2 separate regions of the Homo sapiens genome follow, and region 1 is linked to region 2. The links are contacts of gene promoters, found by promoter capture Hi-C in human tissues and cell types (Jung and others, 2019). All regions are on one chromosome and are shown on one strand. The core of a region is centred on a gene start or on the middle of the fragment in contact, and the rest is flanking DNA. Distances in the headings are between cores, read along the strand shown.

Region 1 (7,260 bases), core at 1,337-3,836, 310 kb after region 2:
GTTTAGTCACCCAGGCTGGAGTGCAGTGGTACCATCTCAGCTCACTGTAGCCTTGACCCCCTCAAGCAGTCCTCACTTCCCAAGTAGCTGGGACTACAGGAATGCACCACCACGCACAGCTAATTTTTGTATTTTTATTAGAGACGGGGTTTCTCCATGTTGCACAGGCTGGTCTTGGACTCCTGAGCTCAAGTGATCCACCTGCCTTGCCCTCCAAAAGTGCTGGGATTACAGGTGTGAGCCTCTGTGCCCAGCCATGATTATCTATGGCAACCATTTTTTTTTTTTTTTTTGAGATGGAGTTTTGCTCTGTTGCCCGGGCTGGAGGGCAGTGGTGTGATCTTGGTTCACTGCAACCTCCACCTCCTGGGTTCAGCTATTCTCCTGCCTCAGCCTCCTGTGTAGCTGGGATTACAGGCATATGGGAGACATTTCTTTTTCTTTTTCTTTTTTTCTTGTTTTTTTTGAGACGGAGTCTTGCTCTGTCACCCAGGCTGGAGTGCAGTGGCACGATCTCGGCTTACAGCAAGCTCTGCCTCCTGGGTTCACACCATTCTCCTGCCTCAGCCTCCTGAGTAGCTGGGACTCCAGGCGCCCACCACCACACCCAGCTAATTTTTTTTTTTTGTATTTTTAGTAGAGACGGGGTTTCACGGTGCTAGCCAGGATGGTCTTGATCTCCTGACCTCGTGATCCACCCGCCTCGGACTCCCAAAGTGCTGGGATTACAGGCGTGAGCCACTGTGCCCAGCCGCATATGGCCAGACATTTCTATGAGACATTGTTCATCAGGCCTAGACCCTGAGTCCCCATTAAATGGTGTTTCTATGGCAAATTAGGGACATATGTAGAATAGAACTGCTTATCCCTGCTGATCTGTGGCTGCAGGGAGTCACAAGTTTGCAGTCTTGTTACATTCAGATACTTAAGAGTTAAAAAATAACTGGTGGCTTTTGCCTCCTTTATCCCTGATGTCAAATAAAATGGAATTCCAACCAATAGCTTTTCCACATTGATCTTTTTTCAATGAGTTTTTCTAATTTGTTTGAATTTCCTGGTGTCAAATAAGGTAAAAGCCATGGTTGAAAGCTTGCCAATACTGACTGCATTCATAGTGTTCTCCAGTATGAGTCCTCTTACGTTCAATAATATGAGAACAACTCCTGAATGCTCTTCCACGCAAATTACATGTATGGGGTTTTCCTCAGTATGAGTCCTCTGATGTCACATCATAAGGGCTAGGCTACGTCTGAAGCCTTTCCCACGATGACTGTATCCATCACTTTGCTCTCCAGTGTGTCTTCTGTGATTTTTGAGTAGTGGAGGAGCAAAGTGTAAAACCTTTCCCTGAATGATTCCCTTCATAAGGTGTCTCTATAGATTCTTAGCTATAGGGTAAAAGTGTTCACTTCTTTAGAAGAATTTCCTAAATTCACTGCAAATATATAATTTCCCACAAGTATAAATTGTCTCATATTGAATAAGGTATAATTTGTGTCTACAGCCTTTGCTACAGCGATTACATTTATAGTATTGTTCTCCTGTATAAGTTCTGAAACATACTGAAAGAAATATTTCTTAATAAAGACTCTCCAACACTCAACACATTTGTAAGGTCTATTTCCTGAGAGAGTTTGCTCATACATCAGTGGGGTTGAGCTCTGTTTAAAGACTTCTTTACACATACTACATTTATATGGTCTCTCTCCAGTATGACTTCTCTGATGTCAGAAAGTATTTACCATAAACAGGGATTTCTCACATTCAGAACATCTGGAGGGTTTGTCAACTGTGTGAGTGCTCTCAAAACAAAGATGAGAGGAGCTCTGAATACACTTTTCCACATTCCTTACATTCAACTCAACTCTCTCTAACATGAATTCGCTTACATTGACTGAGACTTGTGCTACACTTAAAAAATTTACTACGTATATTTCATATATAAGGCTTTTCTACACTGAACTGTTTGCAAGTCTAAGAAGTTGAGTGTTTTGACCAAAAGCATTCCCAAAATCATAATTTTCAGGGGTTTTTCCCTGTGCATTTATGGTTTATTAAATCTGAATGTTGTTTTACAATGAGTCATGTATGTAGTGGTATTCATTGATAAGAATATTGTTTAGTGGGCCAGGCACGGTGGCTCACGCCTGTAGTCCCAACATTTTGAGAGGCCAACGTGGGTGGATCACAAGGTCAGGAGTTCAAGACCAGCCTGGCCAAGATGGCGACACCCCTGTCTCTACTAAAAATACAAAAATTAGCCAGGTGTGGTGGCGGGTGCCTGAATCCCAGCTACTTGAGAGGCCGAGGCAGAGAATTGCTTGAACCCAGGAGGTGAAGGTCGCAGTGAGCCAAGATCATGCCATTGCACTCCAGCCTGGGTGACAGAATGAGACTCTGTCTCAAAAAACAAAAACAAGGCCAGGCGCGGTGGCTCATGCCTGTAATGGCAGCACTTTGGGAGGCCAAGGAGGGTGGATCATGAGGTCAGGAGATCGAGACCATCCTGACTAACACGGTGAAACCCCGTCTCTACTAAAAATACAAAAAATTAGCTGGGTGTGGTGGCGCGCGCTTGTAGTCCCAGCTACTCTGGAAGCTGAGGCAGGAGAATGGCATGAACCCGGGAGGCAGAGCTCGCAGTGACCTGAGATCCTGCCACTGCACTCCAGCCTGGGTGACAGAGCAAGACTCTGTCTCAAAAACAAAACAAAACAAAACAAAAAAGAATATTGTTTAGTGGAAGAAGGCTTGAATTCTACTTAACATTAGCTGTGCATTTCTTATTCTTGCAACCTCATTCCTGAATCAGTGTTCCTCAAGCATCATTTGTTTGACTCATCTCTCCTGGTCCTCCTTCTGCTTCTCTAAGTGGACCTTACAGTCCTGGTTTCTTCCAAATGTGAAGAAATGAAGCTCATTCTTTGTGAATCTTTCCACTTTCAGGATGGCATTTTTGTTGTTGTTGTTTTTATTTTGTTTTGTTTTGTTTTGAGACGGAGTCGTCCTCTGTCACCCAGGCTGGAGGGCAGTGGCGCAGTCTCGGCTTACTGCAACCTCTGCCTCCTGGGTTCAAACAATTCTCCTGCCTTAGCCTCCCAGGTAGCTGGGATTACAGGTACACGCCACCATGCCCAGCCAATTTTTGTATTTTTTTTTTAGTAGAGACGGGGTTTCACCGTGTTGGCCAAGCTGGTCTCAAACTCCTGACCTTGTGATCCACCCACCTCAGTCTCCCAAAGTGCTCGGATTTCAGGCATGAGCCACCACGCCTGGCCTGGCATATGGTTTTCAGACAAATGTCTTCCTTCCTGGTTATCTCTTTGCTTTTGATGATAGTTTCACAATCCAAAAAAAAAAAAAAACCAGATACATTTGTACATCCCCTACAGTTGTTCACTGAATAAATTATGGCTTGTTCAATCAATTAAAAAACCATAATTTTAAGAGCTGGAGAGAAAATGCTGGTATTAAGCACATCGAAAGCATGTTGATTTGTTTCCAAATCTGTCTTGCCAGGAGCGACTGAGCAAATAAGAATAAGCCCAGTCTCTCCAGGTGGCTGATAGGAAAATAGATCAATCTCTGCTAGTAGTCATTTCTCACTCTCTTTTCTTTTTCTTTCTTTCTTTTTTTTTTTTTTTCTTTTGAGACGGAGTCTCGCTCTGTCGCCCAGGCTGGAGTGCAGTGGCACGATCTTGGCTCACTGCAAGCTCTGCCTCCTGGGTTCACGCCATTCTCCTGCCTCAGCCTCCTGAGTAGCTGGGACTACAGGCGCCCGCCACCATGCCCAGCTAATTTTTTGTATTTTTAGTAGAGACGGGATTTCACCATGTTAGCCAGGATGGTCTCGATCTCCCAACCTCGTGATCCACCAGCCTCAGCGTCCCAAAGTGCTGGGATTACAGGCGTGAGCCACCGCGCCCAGTCTCCTCACGCTGTTTTCAAGATGCTCTTCTGGACCCCAGTGCTTTGGGGGCTTGTCCTGAGCCCTCTTCTCTCATCCACCAGTATGGTCTGTTTTATTCTGCTGGCTTCAAACACCATCTGAACATTGATGAATCACAATTTGTAGCTTCATTCCAGATTCTTTTCTGAGCATGGACATATTTCACCATATTCATACTGCCTGCTGGGAGTGTCTATTCATTTTACAACCATACCTTGTCAGTACTGAGTTCTACTCTCATGCTCTACCTCCTCTTCTCCCAGGTTTCTCCTGTCCATGGATTGCATCACAGTTGCTCATGCCAGTAGCCATGGACCCTTCCACTTCCATTTTGAATCAATCACCAAATTCTGAGCCCACCTTAAACATACATTGAAATGATCCCCTTTTTACTTCCATTGACTCATCCGGTTCCAAGTCATGACACTTCTTGACTGAACTACACAGTAGTGCTTTCATCATCATCTCCTCTTCTGTTCATGACACCATCCCAACACTCAACCAGTGCAACCGTTCAAACATGGAAATCAGGCCAGGTGTGGTGGCTCACCCTTGTAATACCAGCACTTTGGGAGGCCAAGGCAGGAAGATCACTTGAGTTCAGAAGTTCGAGACCAGCCTGGACAACACAGTGAGACCCCCGTCTCTACAAAAAAAGTTTTTTTTTAATTAGCCGGGTGTGGTGGTGTGCACTTATGATTTCGGCTACTTGGAAGGCTGAGGTGGGGGGATTTCTTGAGCCCAGGATTCCAAGGTTGCAGCAAGCTATGATTGCACCACTGCACACCAGCCTGGGTGACACAGCAAGACCCTGTCTCTTTTATTTATTTATTTATTTTTTTTATTATTTTTATTTATATATACTTTAAGTTTTAGGGTACATGTGCACAACGTGCAGGTTAGTTACATATGTACACATGTGCCACGTTGGTGTGCTGCACCCATTAACTTGTCATTTAACATTAGGTATATCTCCTAATGCTATCCCTCCCCCCTCTCCCGACCCTGTCTCTCTTAAAATGTAAACTAGATCATTTAATTCTCTTGCTTAAATTCAACGAGTGACTTCTCATTGCTCTCAAATATTTATGCTTTTTTGTAGAACATCCACATTCACTATGCTGATTGCTACATAAAGGCAGATTCCAAATCTGTTTGCTAATTTCCTTGGCAACAGTACCTAGCATGGCATCACCGTGACTGTTTCTTGGCCAATTGTTTGAGGTGACTTGTATCCCTCACCATTCGACTGTTATGTTGATGACTTCCAAGTCGAGATCACTAACCCTCAGCTTCTGAATTTCCAAAGCCTGTGACTAAATGCCTGCTGGAGATCTTCCCCCACACATCAGGCAGTGCCCTTCTAATGGTGCAAATTAGATCATGTCACTCCCGAGGTTAACTCCACCCCTTCTGGTTTCCTGTCTCCTTCAGGGTGAAGCCCAAACTCCTAATCAAGGTGCACAAGGCCTGGCACATGTCAGCCAGATTTCCCCTGACTCTTCTGCTCTCTCCCCTTGCCCATCCATTCTGTCTTCACTGCCTGCTATTGTTTTTTTTTTTTCCTTGGGGAACGAGTCTCGCTGTCACCCAGGCTGGAGTGCAATGGCGTGATCTTGGCTCACTGCAACCTCCACCTCCTGGGGTCAAGCAATTCTCGTGCCTCAGCCTCCCAGGTGGCTGGGATTACAGGCACGCGCCACCATGCCCAGCTAATTTTTGTATTTTTAGTAGAGATGGGTTTCACCATACTGGCCAGGCGGGTCTCAAACTCCTGACCTCAAGTGATCCGTCGGCCTCGACCTCCCAAAGTGCTGGGATTACAGGCATGAGCCACTCACTGTGCCTGGCTGGTTTCTTGATTGTACCAAATTCTCTCCACCTCAGAGCCTTTGCTAGTGCTCTCCTTCTACCAAAATGCTCTTCCTCAGTATGTTGGCTCCTTCTTTTACTTGAGAAGTCAGATTAACATTGACCTCCTCAGAGAGGCCTTCTTGGACTGTGTAGTGAGCTCAGTAATGGTTTCCAAAAGATGTCCACATCCTCATCCCTAGAACCTCGTGAATGTTACTTCACATGGCAAAAGAATTTTTACAGATGTGAATAAATTAGGAATCTTGAGATACAGAGATTATCCTGGATTATCTGAGTGGGCCCAGTGTATTCACAAGGATACTTAAATGTGGAAGAGGAAGATAGAAGAGTCAGAATCAGAAAACGAGTTTTGATGATGGAAGCAGAGGTTGGAGTGACTCAGGGCCATAGACCTAGCAATGTAAGTGTCCTTTAGAAGCTGGAAAATGGAAGGCATGTATTCTCCACTCATGCCTCCCAAAGGAAAGCCAACCCATTTTGGATTTCTGACCTCCAGAACTATAAGATAATAACTTTATTTTGTTTTAAGCCACTAAATCTGTGGTAATTTGTTACTGCTAGGAGTCAGCAAACTATAGTTTCCAGGTCTGGTCCCGTCTGTTGCCTTTTTGGGGAGGGGATGGCTTATGAACTAAGAGTAGTTTTTATATTTTTTAAAATTCTTTTTTTTGTTGTTTTGGCTGGTCAAACGAAGCAGTGGGAGTGGAGAAGAACAAAGAAATCTGTAACTGGTTGTGATCAATTAATTGTAGTTTTTACATCTTTTAATAATTGAAAATAAAGGAATAATTATATTTTGTGATGTGAAAATTATATGAAATTCAAATTTCAGTGTCCATGAAGTTTTTTGTTTGTTTGTTTGTTTGTTTGAGACGGAGTCTCACTCTGTCACCCAGGCTGGAGTGCAGTGGCACGATCTCAGCTCACTGCAACCTCCACCTCCTGGGTTCACTCCATTCTCCTGCCTCAGCTTCCCGAGTAGCTGGGACTACAGGCGCCCACCACCACGCCTGGCTAATTTTTTGTATTTTTAGTAGAGACAGGGTTTCACCGTGTTAGCCGGGATGGTCTCAATCTCCTGACCTCGTGATCCGCCCACCTTGGCCTCCCAAAGTGCTAGGATTACAGACGTGAGCCACCGCGCCTGGCCCATAAAGTTTTTTTATTTTTATTTTTGTAGGGATGGGGTGTCACTTTGTTGCTCAGGCTGGTCTTGAACTCCTGGGTTTAAGTGATCCTCCCACCTTGGCCCCCAAAAGTGTTGGGATTACAGGTGTGAGCCACCACACTCAACTGTCCATAGGTTTTACTGAAATACAGCTCTGCCCATGTATTATGTATAGTCAATAGCTGCTGTTGTGCTACAACAAGGTTGACAGTTGCAACAGAGACCATATAGTCCCCCAAACCTAAAATATTTACTGTCTGGTCCTTTA
Region 2 (7,374 bases), core at 4,869-7,368:
GTGAAAATGCCCCTTGTTTTCAGAGTAGGAAGGAGAAGAGTGCTGAATCAAGGCCCCCAAGGAGTCCCCATTCCAATCCCCAGAAGCTGTGAACATCTCAATTGGCAAAAGGGACTCTGCGGTGTGACTAAGTGTGCAGGTAGGGGACAAGATATGATGAGGGTCCTTAAGGAGGCCAAAGGATCGATGGGTGTCAGAGAGCTGGCAGCCTAAGGAAGACGTGACCAACCATGGCTGGCTTTGAAGACGGAGGAATGGACCAAGAAAAAAAAAAGGGGGAACGTGGGCTGACTCTAGAAGCTGGAAAAGGCAACAAAATGGATTATTCTCTCCTAGAGCCTTCAAGAGGAACCAGTCCTGTTAAAACCTTGATTTTGGCCGGGCGCGGTGGCTCACGCCTGTAATCCCAGCACTTTGGGAGGCCGAGGTGGGTGGATCACGAGGTCAGGAGATCGAGACCATCCTGGCTAACACGGTGAAACCCCGTCTCTACTAAAAATGCAAAAAAATTAGCCGGGCGTGGTGGCGGGTGTCTGTAGTCCCAGCTACTCAGGAGGTTGAGGCAGGAGAATGGCGTGAACCCGGGAGGCAGAGCTTGCAGTGAGCCGAGATTGTGCCACCGCACTGCAGCCTGGGCAACTGAGCGAGACTCCATCTCAGACAAAACAAAACAAAACAAAACAAAACAAAACCTTGATTTTAGCCCAGTGGGACCCATGTCAGAGTTCTGACCTTCAGAGCTATAAGAGAATCTGTTGTTTCAAGCTGCCAAGTTTGTTAAAGCAGCAACAGAAAACTAATACAGTGCATTGGCGAGTCCCCAGTGACTGCCCAGAGATCCGGTGCTTCCCAGGGAGCTGACCTTTTGCCTTCCTGCTGCATGACCAGCTAACTATGGAGGGTGCGGCCTGACCTAGAAGTACCCATGGCCTTGGCGCAACCCCTGCTTGCAGCCCCTCTTCTCAGAGGTCCCCCTTGTCCAGCCGTACTTCGAAAGGAAATCCCCTTTGTGTCTCTCAAGCCGGGACTGATGAGTTCCAAGGCCAGTGAGGCTGGTGAGTGATGTGGGCGGCAAGGAGCAAGGGAGGCTGGGGACCTGGGACCTGGGTTCTGTGGCAACAGAGGTTTGGCCGTTCTGGGCTCAACTGCCCTGTGCTGCAGCTACTGGGCAGAGACAGCAAACTGCCTATTTCCCGACCAGCAGAAGCCAGAAATCAGGATTCTTATTCAGAAACTCCATATTATGAAAGTGGAATTTATGTTAAAATTCTAACACACACAGGGAGCAGGAGAAACGGAAGCCAACTGTGCTTTCCTGGGTCTTCTGCTGCTCTCCACACTGAGACCTCAGGCCCAGCCTCTGCACAGACGAGTGGGAAGGCACAGTTTTTGAACACCCACCTGAGGCAAGGAGGTCCCAGGAGAGGGAGTGTTGTCAGCCCAGGCCATGTCACAGGGAGGGAGGGAGCCTGGTGCTTGGCAGTCACCCCACAGGCACTGGTCAGCCATAGAAGGGAACCCAGACCTCCCTCTAGGAGGCAGGGGCAAGAAGAGAGAGAGCAGCTCCTTTTCCTTGCACCCAGGTCTTTTGGGGGAGACCAGACCAGGGGCAGGGAACTGGCTTGGGACCCCTTGTTCACTCTGGCATCCCCTGCTGCCTCCAGAGTCTTCTGCTGGTGCCCCAGAGGCTGTATCCAGGCCCCGAGAACACCGAGGCCCCGAGGGACTGTGCTGTCTGGCTGCTCATGGAACCTCCGGCCGGTGGCCCTTGCGGTGGATGACCAGCTGCGACTTCCAGTCGAAGGCGCGGCCACAGTCACTGCAGAAGTGACGCCGCTGGCCTGTGTGGCTCTTGCGGTGGATGACCAGCTGCGACTTCCAGCTGAAGCTGCACCCGCACTCCTCACACGGGTAACTCCGGGGGCCTGTGAGTGAGCGTCGGGGGTGGTGCGGAAAGGCCACCTCCCCTTGTGGTGGCTTCTCTGTGCTTTCCCCGGTGGCTAGCCCCGGGGACTGCACACCTGGCCCACTCGTGTGTGTCCGGTGGTGGATGACGAACACTGACTTCCAGTCGAAGCCGCGGCCACACTGCTCGCACGTGTAGGGCTTCCTGGGGGTGGCAGCCGGCTCCAGTCTCGTCTCTGCAGGTGTGGGCTGAGTGGGCACTGGCGGTGTCCCTGGGCGCACAGTGGGGGCAGGAGTGGCAGCCCCAGACAAGCCCTCCCAGGCTGCCGGCCCTGGGCCCTGGGGCGGCTGGGCCTCTGGGCAGCCAGGTGGACCCTCACTCTCATTTCCTGGGGGCAGGGGCAAACCAGGTGAGTCCCGGCACTCAGCAACCCCTCCCTCAGGCTTGTGGCCGTGGCACAAGCTCCCGTCCCCCCATGAGTGGGTGGCTCAGGTCCCACCGATACAGGAGGGGTGATTCAGGCTGGATGGTGTGGGGCACTCACCCGAGCGCAGGCTTCTGCAGACGCCTGTCCCCGTGAGCAGCATCCCCAGCTCTGACTGGGCCTGTGCCTCTGGCTGGTGGGGCGGTAACCCTGCCCGGGTGGGGGGCACAGTTAGGCATGGGGTTTGCATGAAGGAGGGGTGGGGTCGGTTCTGGTAGGTGACAGGGTGTTCCTCTGGAAGGTGGGAGAGCTGGGTAGGGCTGGTAGCACAGAGGCCCTGCCCAGCTAGGCCTGCTGCAGGGTGGGTGCAGGCCCCAGGGAGAGGGGCGGGGTGGGGCTGGCTGGTCCTCACCCAGGGAGACCACTGTGCCGTACTTCTCCAGCATCGCATCCCAGTACAGTTCCTTCTGTGACCGGTCCAGCAGCCCCCACTCCTCCTGCGGATGTGGCCCATCACTGTAGGCGTCTTTCCACCCCTTCCCTGCCCTGTCTGGTTCACATTCTTACCTATTACCCGGAAGAGTCAGCAGGTTACCTACGCCTCATCTGCCCCTCCTGCTGAGAATGATCTCAAGGTGTGTGTTTGTTAAGTGCAGAGGTTCTCCTTCAGATCACCTGACCAGTGCTGCTGCCAGCACTCATCCCCCTCTACTACACCATCCTGCTCAGAGGGCAGGTTTGGCAGCATCACAGGGACCTGAGTGACTTTATCGAGGAATGAACTCCCTGATTGGGGGTCAGCCCTCCTTGCTGCCTGAGTCCCATCATCTGGGGCTTTGCTGGGTTGGGAAAAATAATCCTGAGGGACAAGCTGTGGCAAGTCCAGGGGCAGGAAGGCGGCAGCTGTGAGGAGCCACAGCTAGAGATGGTGCTGGCTGGAGGTGAGGACACTGGGAAGTGCAGCCTACCCACCCTGCCTCACTTTCTGACTGTGCCATGGGGCTGTGGAGGGAGCCTGGAAGGACTTCTTAGCCTCGAAACACATCTCAACCAGCAATGTTGCTGCTGAAGCTCCCCAGTGGAGTTGTTAGAGGAGCCGGGAGAGGAAAAGACCTTGCTACCCACACTTGGGAACCAAGCGATCCAGGTAGAAGAGGCCTCAAGCTGAGCTTCCAGGCCTAACAGGTGGCCTCTGAAGAAACCCCTAGGAGAGAAGGGACTTCGGGCATTTCCCAGGGAGAGTGTCTCCATCTGGTCTCAGGTGTGGGGGGAGTCCTGCCACAGCTGGTCATCTTCTCCCCTCCCCAGCTACACACAAAAGTTCAAATCCCCAGGTCTGGCTCAGGACCTCTGGGAGCAGCAAACCTCCCAGCTGACTTCTCTGGAGGTGAGGAAGCCAAGCCCACTAGTTCCAGCCACTCTAAACTGGGTTTCCATGGCTTGAGGCCCAAATCCTTTTTTTTTTTTTTGTTTTTGACACACAATTTTGCTCTTGTTGACCAGGCTGGAGCGCAGTGGCACAATCTCGGCTCACTGCATCCTCTGCCTCCTGGGTTCAAGCAATTGTCCTGCCTCACCCTCCCTAGTAGCTGGGATTACAGGCGCCTGCCACCACTTCTGGCTAATTTTTGTATCTTTAGTAGATACAGGGTTTCACCACATTGGTCAGGCTGGTCTCGAGCTCCTGACCTCAGGTGATCCGCTCACCTCAGCCTCCCAAAGTGCTAGGATTACAGGTGTAAGCCACCATGTCCAGCCCCAAATCCTTTTCAATAATAGATCACCAGTCTGTCCCTCTGCCCCAGGTCCTGTGGAGGGGTACAGCTTTTACAGACTCCACTTCTGGGAAGCAAAGAGCCACTAGTCAAGGAGCCTGGAAAACCACCAGGCAGAGGGCAGCCATGGGGACAGTCCCTTCTCACACCTGGGGCCTATACTTCCCACTTGGGGCTGCTCACCTGAATCCTGGGTGGGTGGAAGGATGTGGAGGCTGGTTCTTGGTGTCCATGGTTCCCCTCAGGGGACTGTGCTGCAAGTGGAGGGCTGGAGGGTGCTGAAAAGTGGGGCAGATGGAAGGGTGGTGTCAGGGGCTGCCCACATGAGCCATGGCAGATGAGGAGCTCCTCTGCTGTGTGACATGGCACGTAGCCAGCCCTTGGCTCCTGCCTCCCAGGTCCCCATCCCAGACAGGGACATCCACATTCACTTCAGGAGTCCCAGCCTTGACACACCTCTCCTGGGACTCCCACCCTAGCCAGGAATGTCCACACTTCCTCCAGGAGTCCCTCATCTCTGGTGGGACCCCAACCTCACCCACTTCCTGTCCATCGACATTGGGCTCCTCCTTCACACTGCAGCTGAGCTGGACAGACCCCTCTATTCTGGTGTCCTGGGGACCTTCCCCAGGGGACTCCACTGTCCCTGAGGGGTGGGGGCTCCCAAGTGGTTCCTCTGTCTTCTGGGCTGCAGGGAGCACCTCCTGCTTCAGGACATGGGCTGTGATCTGAGGAGAAGAGGTAGGTCACAATGGCTCTAGCCAGGGTCTATCCCTCCAAGAAGCTGATGCCAGCCACACTCACCCAGCCCAACAGTTGCCCAGGGTCATGCTGCAGTCCTTCGACTAGGGCAGCGGCCTCCTCAGGACTGCCTGGCCGCTGACCGCGCACCCAGGCCTGGATCTCGGGAGGCAGTGTGCCCAGGAACTGCTCCAGCACCAGCATCTCCAGCATCTGCTCCTTGGAGTGTGCCTCAGGCTGCAGCCACTGGCAACACAGCTCACGCAGCCGGGCCAGGGCTTCTCGGGGACCTGCCACCTCCTGGTAGCAGAACCCTCGGAAGCGGAGGCGGGCAGTCTCAGGCTCCTCAAGGGTGGTCTCTGGGTCCATGACGGGCAGGCATGGGGGACCCAGAGGGGATGGCATTCTTGCTCAAGGGGGTGGTCTTGGAATCGTCAAGATGGGCCTACAGAAAAGGAAGGGTCGGAATGTCAGCCAAGAGAATCTGGCCAGGGGAAGGCAGACACCAGGCTCAGCCCAGGGGGCTGAGACCAGGACCAAGTGTACTCTGAGGCCAGAAGAGATAAGGCCAAGAAAGCTTCATGGAAGGAGGAGGGTCACAGGACCCAAACAATGATGGCAAATGAGAGCAGGAGGAAGCCTCAGGGACAAATGCTTGGACGCAAGGTGTCCAGGGAGCTTCCTGGAAATTGCAAACAGTTGGGTCCAGCAGGGGACTGCTGGGAGATGACGCTAAAGAGGTGGAGAAAGACAGTCATCACAGAGTTCCAGCGCCAGGCTGAGGAGCCACAGTGTCTAGCCGAGGTGCGAGGAGAGTGGACCAGGGTGGGCGGGTAGAAGGTGGGGCCAGGCTGTAATGTACGGGGACGAGTCGCCCTCCACAATCTCGGGGAGGTTGACTGGGTGGGACCTCCTTTAGGAATGGCTCTGGGGAGGGGGCACGTGGACATCGTGCTCGCTGACCACAGCGAGCCGTGGGCGACTCACACTGCCGGGGCCCGTGCATGTGAAAACGAAAAGCAAAGGCCAAGAAAAACGGGGCCAAAGCTCCACGTTGCGCGGAGTCGAGGGATGGCCACAGCATCCCGGCCCTGAAGGTCTGCAGTGAAAGACGCCCACCTGGACGGGCCTGAGAGACCAGGCCTGACACCCGGCCTATCCGAGGGATGCTCGAACTTCGGGATCTGTCCCCAAAAGGGGAAGGCAAGAGGGAGGCGTTCCAAGAGGACTTGCCAGGCCCGGCCCCCCGGAACGGCGTTGAGGGTAGGAAAGGCCTGAGCGAAGGCTGAGGTGACGCGCGCGGCCTGTCGGGAAGTGGGCGGGCCCTCCAGGGCGCCGACAGCAGGAGCCGTTCAGGCCCCAGAGGGCGACCCCAAGCCCTCCCACGGGGTGGAAAGGCTGCGCCCACTCTGGCAGCCTGCGCTCACCTCAACCCGGAGCGGTTGCTTGGAGGCCGCTTCCCGGATGTGGCGCCGCACAACGCGGGGCGCCTCAGCCGGGTGTTGCCCCGGCGACGCCGCGCTGACCAATCTCTCGCCTGCACCGAAGGCACCGCCCATGCCCTTTGAACTACATTTCCCATGAGCATCAGCAAGACAGGCGCGACCGTGACCCGCTGACCCGCATTTGCAGCAGCCTCTGACGCCTGAGAGGCGCTCTGTTCCTCTAGGAGGTACGGCAGAGTCCCAGGGTTATATGGTCTCCCTCCGCTCTGAGAGCAGCTCTTCCCGGGTTATAAACTTGCGCGTCTGTACAGTGGGCCGGTTTCTATTGGCAGGTGAGGGGAGGGGGTTTTGCCCAATCAGAGGTGGCGCTTGCTTGGCCCCGCCGCCCCCACGCCATTCCCCGGGCCAGCCCCTAGATAACGCTAGGGCATATCCGCCCGCCTCCAGCTGTTCCCGTGGCAACGTTCAGGAGCGTTGCCTCGACTTCCGAAGAGGCTGGAAGTGGCGGCCCAGTGGTTTCCTAGGTCGAGTAGTTCGCTGGGACTCGCTTCCAAGTGGACCCGGGAGAGGCGGTGGTGTAGAAGACCACCCTGAGCCTGGGCTTTCTCCCGCCAGGAGGGTGCGAGGGCCATCTTTGACCTCTGTTAAGCGCCCTAAGGAGGTACCGACGGTTGTGACCGCAGTCTCTGACGTCTTCAGATGTCAGTCCTACAAAGTCGGGGGTGGAGGTTTCCCTCCAGGCTGATCGGACATGCTCAACCGTTTATTTACCTTTGAATTTGGGGAGCAGAACTAGCCAGGGTGACACTAGTTTCTCCCAATAAGCAGTGTTACAGTTTTCTAAATCTGTGGGGTCAGTTTTGCTTCCACACTTAAAAGTGGCCGAGCCATTACTTAGTCAGTCCTAAATTACACCGCCTGTTTTGGTTTCTTTGGATACCTGGGAATCCCTGCTGCCTGCTCTGGATGAAGAGCAGTGGTCTTGATCACCGATTGGAAGCACCGAGCATGTGCGTGGATGAGACTTGTCAACTCGGAGCTTTCCAACGGCCTCCTCAGGTTGTTTTTGGGGATGAGGTGCTT

What was found. Contacts are between HindIII fragments. The study calls those that stand out against the background at their distance.
Region 1: a contact is called between a fragment that was not itself captured here and the fragment with the promoter of ZNF446 in region 2, in 1 of the 25 tissues and cell types used here (spleen).

Annotation. Positions count from the first base shown.
Region 1 is chr19:58,160,859-58,168,118 of GRCh38, reverse strand. The region is part of intron 1 of LOC124904784 (a long non-coding RNA gene); the gene reads right to left. Among named protein-coding and RNA genes, the nearest start is that of ZNF329, 14 kb to the right of the region's middle. The HindIII fragment of the contact is 6,997 bases long and covers 1-6,084 here.
Region 2 is chr19:58,475,096-58,482,469 of GRCh38, reverse strand. It overlaps ZNF446 (zinc finger protein 446), which reads right to left and starts at 6,118. Exons shown (of 7, transcript NM_017908.4): 1 at 5,966-6,118; 2 at 4,910-5,291; 3 at 4,644-4,833; 4 at 4,289-4,383; 5 at 2,743-2,827; 6 at 2,451-2,540; 7 at 1,240-2,294. The coding sequence starts at 5,251. The coding sequence ends at 1,744. ZNF324 (zinc finger protein 324) reads right to left here. Exons shown (of 4, transcript NM_014347.3): 4 at 7,034-7,374. LOC112268251 (a long non-coding RNA gene) reads left to right here. Exons shown (of 3, transcript XR_007067366.1): 2 at 24-1,055; 3 at 1,283-1,373. RefSeq lists enhancers at 5,860-6,059, 6,214-6,508, 6,330-6,579, 6,820-6,879, 6,940-7,029. The HindIII fragment of the contact is 17,703 bases long and covers 1-7,374 here.